Linked DNA regions of Homo sapiens: region 1 is linked to region 2. The links are contacts of gene promoters, found by promoter capture Hi-C in human tissues and cell types (Jung and others, 2019). All regions are on one chromosome and are shown on one strand. Each heading gives the region's core, a stretch centred on a gene start or on the middle of the fragment in contact. The rest is flanking DNA. Distances are from core to core; before and after follow the strand shown. Region 1 overlaps COL4A3 (collagen type IV alpha 3 chain). Region 2 holds the start of SLC19A3 (solute carrier family 19 member 3).

Region 1 (3,269 bases), core at 439-2,938, 540 kb before region 2:
TTGCTTCCCTTACTCAACTCCTTGAAGAAGTTTTCACGTCTCATCCATCTTTGTGGTTCGAGCTCTTAATGTCACAGTTGGTATTTTATTAGATATCCAAACTAAAAAGTCAATAAAGAATTAGTAGTTCTTTAATCCTTTGACAGAAGAATAAAACGTTATTTTGGGACAAAACATTGAATGTTTCATTCATTCATTCCACAAGGCAGCAAATACTTTTCCATATCTTACTATGTGAGGGGTACAGTGCTACACGCTGGGAACAAAGGGAGATAAAACTCATGTGGTCCCTTCTGTCCTCATGGAGTATGCAATCAAGTGATGGGCTTAGATACGTGTGCAGAGAATAATAGTAAAATTATGCATGTTATAACGAGGTAAATATGGAAAAGCAAACTTTGAGTGGAGTTGAGAGGAGGAATAAGATTGATAAATGTACTGAACAGTGAACTTGCAGGCATTATATTAAGCAAATGCGTAAGTGCAACGGAGCCAGAAAGTATTATAGTAAGATTTCAGTGGCTTGAAAACATTGTTTATCTGCAAAGTAAAGTGCTTAAAACTGTTGGTAATGAACTCAGAAAGCAACAAGTAGAGTTACTGGGCGGTGCGGTGCTTTTACTGTCTTCTACTTTATGCCCCAGATCAAGCCCTTGTCAGCGATTAGTAGCAGTGCTTCAAGGTTTACAGACACGGACTAGATTCTTATTTTGCCATCTTACGCAAAAGCAGATCAGCAATCCTTTCCAAAAAGCAATAAAAACTGAGAACAGGGCAGCCTCTGAAATCTTATGAGATGAGGTTCCAACTGATTGGAAGCAAGACTGCATGTCCCACGCAGGTGCCAGTGCTCTCTAATTGCTGCAGAAAGGCAGAAGAATGAGATGTGGATTTATTGAGTACTGTCTGTGCCTGGGACTGTGCCCACGAAACCGTTCAGAGCTTCTACTCGCTGTGACCTGCTCAGGCCTTTCAGAGACGGAACATTCAGAGCCCATGTGACCTGAATGAGCAGCATCCCCACACCCTACAAGGGCAGTCATGCAGGCAAGGACATCTGAGGCACCCTGGGATCTAAAAGAGGCAGTGCCCGGCAGCAGTAAGAACCCTTCATCATGGTCCAGAAGAAAGGCACTGTTGTGACAGTTTTGGGCAAGTCACTAAAATTCCAAGGCCACTCAGATTCAAATTCAGTTTCTGTTTCCTGAATCACAAGATGTGGCACATAAAATCTTCCCCTCCTATCTCCTGAAACAATACAATCGCACATTTTACACACAGTCAAGCATTCCACAAATGCCAAGTATTACTGAGACAGGAATGAGATTCAATATCAGAAAAGCAATAGTCCAAATGTTTTTTATACTCATTTAATTCTCCTTTTATTTCGTGACCTAGTATCAACTTCCTGGAATGCATTAAGGAGTTTCTTGTTTTTGAAAATATTATTCAGTGCATTCTTTGCTGCTGGTATTTTCTAATAACATTATTTGAAACATCAGCAGAAATGGCATCCTCCCTTAGGACTATCCCGATTAAAAAATGAGCAGAGTATTTACCTTACAGCATCCTGTGTAAATACTGACGCTAAAACTCAGCCAGTGATTTCATCACTTTTGTGATGACTTTATCAGGTACCTCAATGAAAATACCTGTTAATAGAGAAAAAATACCTGGTATAGAGATATTTCTGGGTAACATTTAATATTAATAATTTCTGCCTTTCTTGTCTTTAAAATAGAGAACTCTTTGACATGTATCTAAAAGAGAAGGCATGGAACCAGCTTTGGTACACAGCCTCCCTCAAATTCCATTAATGCGTAGTTGGCTGCATCAGGGTCGGCAGTATAAATTCATTTTGTGCACATTTACCGAGCACTTATGTGTGATGCACTCTTTTACAGAAACTCTTGAAATATCCTTCAGAGGATGAATCCTTGTGAAGTTTCAAAATGAAGCCACTGCAACTAATTATTAGATTGAACATAACTATTCTTTATACACAGATCTTTTTTCCCTAACTATACATGTAATGCATGTCATTTGTGAATATTTGAGATATATAGATAAAAGTAAAAACAAAACTATAAAACAAAAATAACTCCTCATATTAGAACCTGGGGATAACCAGTGAGAATATTTTGGTATATTTGCATAAAAGTGAGATCATATGGCATATGGTATTACGTATCCGGCTTTTTTGACATTATATTGTATTTTCTCACATCAGTAAATATCCCTTAAAAATGAATGCATAATATTTGATGATGTTTATATACCATAATTTAACTTAAAGTTTTTATGTTTTTAACAAGGCTATGATGATTTTTGCCTACATATCTGATTTTTTAATGACGGACATATAGTAGAATTATTAATTAGAGTAATGGGTATAATTTTTTTATACTGCAAGTTCTCCTTTCCAAATAATAGACACAGTTTTAATACTAATGAGCAAAAACATAAATAAAATCACCCTAAATTCTATCTTGTAAATATAACTAGAATTAACATTTTGATGTATATCTATCTTTTCTTATTTAATCTAAAATATGATTTCCCATAAATTGAAGATCTAATTTTTAAAAAATTTCCCCCAAATAGCCAATTTTCTCAGCATTACTTCTAGAATAACCTACTGCTGATTCCCTATTGATTTGTCTCAGCTCTTACCAAAAATGAACCATAGGAATATCTTGGCCACAAATAAATATGGAATTTACAGTTATTTTCCTTGTTTATTGGCCAGGAGTCAGCCAAATGTTTGATAGATTTAAAGCCTCCAGCCACAATCAGCTCTCCACTTCTGTGCCCCTCCACCCACTCACGACAGCTATGAATCTGGAATGAGGTGGGTTCAGAGACCTCCCATTCATGAACACCATAAAACATGCACATTGGCTCAAGATCATTCACTCATTGGAAGAGAATTTTGAGTCAGTGCATCAAAGAGCAATGTCCTGTTTTTCTAGACCACTCTACTCATCCCATCCCCTCCTGATTCTCTCATTCATTTTTAATGACCTCCCAGCAGGGGATATTTGTGAATAAAATCTATTAGATTTTTTTCTAGGTTTCTTAAAGGCTGATCTGGCTTAAACCATGCATCAAAATTAAAACTAAATTGACTTCCTTATATCAAGTTGAGCAGTAGCTTGATAAACATTATAGTGCATTATAATCTCAGAAATAGATTATATAATAGCTATATTATTATCTCAGAAGCAAATATAATGGGGAAAAAACAGATTTGTAATAAAGGCCTTAAC
Region 2 (3,518 bases), core at 748-3,247:
CCTTGAGATGCAGTGAAAGTTTCTGATTAAATGCACTGAGAGAAGGTGGTGTTGTAGGGAAAAAACTGGATTAAAGAAAAATTAGAGGTCATTTGAGCTATTTTACAACTCTGTAAATTTTAACAACTGATGGCAATGTTAAGTAATTATTGTCTATAGACATGCAAATAAGGTTTATCCCATGAAGGACAACAGTCTTCCTTTCCCCCATGGAAAACCAGTTTCAATATTCCTGATCTATATTTCATTATTCAATATTCCTGATCTACGAATGTACCCATTCTTTGGGTTCTTCTTTGATCTGGCTACTACAGACTCATCAGTTTCGTCACTAATAAGTGCCGGGACTCAGAAGCCGATACCCCAAAATATGGGGCTTTGACATGCTGGAGACCTCAAGGTCTCTCTGACCTTCCCGGCTCCCAGCTCAAAAAAACCTTTGTCTGCCTAAGATCCAGACCCACCAAAAGGAACAACTGTTTCTTTTCCCTTCCCTGTAAGACCAAGAATATACCCCACACCTGAACAGACCCATTCACAAGATAATGTAGCTTATTCTCTCCCCTGACCCATTCATGCTCCCTAGCAGAAGCCCATCCACTTCTGCTGGATGCTCTTCGGCTCCCTCCCGTAACCTCATTTGCCAGGGTAGTCTATAAGCTTCTGAGACATGTTGCAGGGTGGGTAATCAATCACTCTGATTCTCCCTGTGTGCATGTTAAATAAATGTGTATGCATTTACCATTACACAACCTTAAAAGAGTGTTGTTGGTCTATTAGCAATAATGACTGAAGGAAATTGGTATTTTTGTCCATTTCAGCTACTACTAGGATAATCTTATAAGATATTTGGGAAGTTATGTTTTGGTCTATTTAATATATGTGCCTCGATGAAAAAAACACCTTTTGCCACAGGAGACACCAATGTTTCAATATTGATAGGAGCAAAACACATGAGAGTGCTTTTTTTTTTTTTTTTTTTTTTTTTTTGAGGCAGAATCTTGCTGGGTCGCCCAGGCTGGAGTGCAGTGGTGCAATCTTGGCTCACTGCAACCTTCGCCTCCCAAGTTCAAGCCATTCTTCAGCCTCAGCCTCCAGTGTAGCTGGGATTACAGGCACCCGCCACCATGCCCGGCTAATTTTTGCCTTTTTAGTAGAGACGGGGTTTCATCCCAGGGCCAAGCTGGTCTCGAATTCCTGACCTCAAGCAATCCGCCCCGCTCAGCCTCCCAAAGTGCTGGGATTACAGGCGTGAGCCACTGCGCCTGGCCTGAGAGTACTTTTAGAAAACATTATTCCTTTACCTTTTTCAAACTTGAAGCACTCCGAAAGTCCCAACCTTTTGCACATTTGCGGCAGCGACATTGATTTGGTAAACAGCTGTCACACTATTTATTATTTGATGACTTAGGTATCCTTTCCAGCAGTGTTTTTGTAAGGTGTAGTTGCGTTTTCTTTTAGTTTCAATTAACTAAATTTCAAGTGGTTCCCAAAAAAGCCCCTGCTCTCTTAAATTCAAACTCACCTTCCTTTTTCCCACTAGGAAGGACCTTTTCTCCATCCTTGGATTGGAATTTGGAATTCTATGCTAAAATGCCTTTTCAGTTAAAATCTGTGAACGTGGGATGTAACCATAGGAGGTGCTGGCACTTTACGGGAATCATGATTTTATTTAATCTGCGCTTCCAGAAGGCTGCAAATGGGAATTCCAGACAAACCCACTTGGGTGAATCCCAGCACGCGGGCTGCGGCGTAGGGGGAGAGCTCCTCACGCGGCTCAGAGTGTAGCCCAGGCCCGCAGAGCCAGGAACCCGCCCCCAGCTCTCCAAACCCGGGAAGAGAGAGGCGACACTGCTAAGACCGAGGGATGACGGTGCTTCTTCAATTAATTCGCCCCCCGAGATATTCTTACCTACAGAAGGGAGTGTCTGTTCACCAAATCGCTCACTTGCCGCACGACCACGCACCCGCGGCTGTCGGATGGATCCAGGCGCTCTTGGTGGGAAGGGGGCGGAGCCTGCCTGGCCCGGAGCCCGGGGCCACGCCCCCACGCTTTGCATATGCGAATCCGGGCGTCCAGACCTTTCATCCCAGTGTGGAAGCCCAGATTTTCCTGGCCCAGGGCCGGTTTTCTGGGCAGAAACAGTCAACTCTGCTGAAAGGAACAACTTAAGTAATACACTGACATTCAGCATAATGAAGCAAGAGGGCCTGAATCCAACAGCGATCGTTTGCTTTATTTACAAATATGTCCTTTCTTATGAATCCATTTATTTCTCTCCAAAAGCTTAGGAGAGAGGGCTGGCTGGCTGTCACCCCCACTCTACACATGAAGAAAGTGAGGCGGAAGGAAGTAGGCCTAGTAAATAGAGAAGCCTGGGTTTTAGTTGGGGCTCCTGGCTCCAGAGCCAGTGGTTATAATCACTCTGCACTTTTTTTTTTTAAAGGAGGTAGAGTGGGATGGTTTCCTGGCACTTTGAAAATCTGATACAAACAATTTTTTCTTTTCTTCTTCTTTTTCTTTTCTTTTCTCTTTTCTTTCTTTCTTTTTTTTTTTTTTGAGACAGAGTCTCCCTCTGTCGCCCAGGATGGAGTGCAGTGGCGCGATCTCGGCTCACTACAACCCTCCGCCTCCCGGGTTCAAGCGATTCTCCTGCCTCAGCCTCCAAAAATTAACGCCCAGTTAATTTTTGTGTTTTTAGTAGAGACGGGGTTTGGTTTCACCATATTGGCCAGGCTCATCTCGAACTCCTGGCCTCGTGATCCGCCTGCCTCGGCCTCTCAAAGTGCTGAGATTACAGGCGTGAGCCACCGCGCCTGGTCTTTTTTCTTTCTTTCTTTCTTTCTTTTTTTTTTTGAGATGGAGCCTCGCTGTTGTTGGCCCCGGGCTGGAGTGCAATGGCACGATCTTGGCTCACTGCAACCTCCACCTCCCGGGTTCCAGCAATTCTTCTGCCTCAGCCTCCCTAGTAGCTGGGATTACAGGCGCCCGTCACCACACCCAGCTAATTTTTGTATTTTTAGTAGAGATGGGGTTTCACCATGTTGTCCAGGCTGGTCTCAAACTCCTGACCTCAGGTGATCCACCCGCCTCGGCCTCCCAAAGTGCTAGGATTACAGGTGTGAGCCACAGCACCCGGCCACCTGGCCTCTTTTCTTTTCTTTTCTCTTTCTTTCTTTCTTTTTTTTTTTTTTTTGACAAAGTCTCACTTTATCTCCCAGGCTGGAGTGCAGTGGTGCAACCCCAGCTCACTGCAACCTCAATCTCCCAGGCACACTGATCCTCCTGCCTCAGCCTCCCAAGTAGCTGGGCTTGCAGGTGGGTGCCACCACGTCACATTAATTTTTTTGTTTTTTTTTTTTGGTAGAGACAGAGTCTCACTATCTTGCCCAGGCTGGTCTTGAACTCCTGGGCTCAAAGGATCCTCCTGCCTTGCCCGCCCAAAGTGTTGGGATTACAGGCATGAGCCACTACGCTTAGCCTGCAAAGAGTTTATATATTAAAGTGAAACTTCTTA

Evidence for each region. Contacts are between HindIII fragments. The study calls those that stand out against the background at their distance.
Region 1: a fragment that was not itself captured here is called in contact with the fragment with the promoter of SLC19A3 in region 2 in 2 of the 25 tissues and cell types used here (IMR-90 fibroblasts and lymphoblastoid cells).

The regions. Positions count from the first base shown.
Region 1 is chr2:227,179,468-227,182,736 of GRCh38, forward strand. The region is part of intron 1 of COL4A3 (collagen type IV alpha 3 chain); the gene reads left to right. Among named protein-coding and RNA genes, the nearest start is that of COL4A3, 16 kb to the left of the region's middle. The HindIII fragment of the contact is 5,974 bases long and covers 1-3,269 here.
Region 2 is chr2:227,716,031-227,719,548 of GRCh38, forward strand. It overlaps SLC19A3 (solute carrier family 19 member 3), which reads right to left and starts at 1,998. Exons shown (of 6, transcript NM_025243.4): 1 at 1,913-1,998. RefSeq lists an enhancer at 1,529-2,415. The HindIII fragment of the contact is 9,813 bases long and covers 1-3,518 here.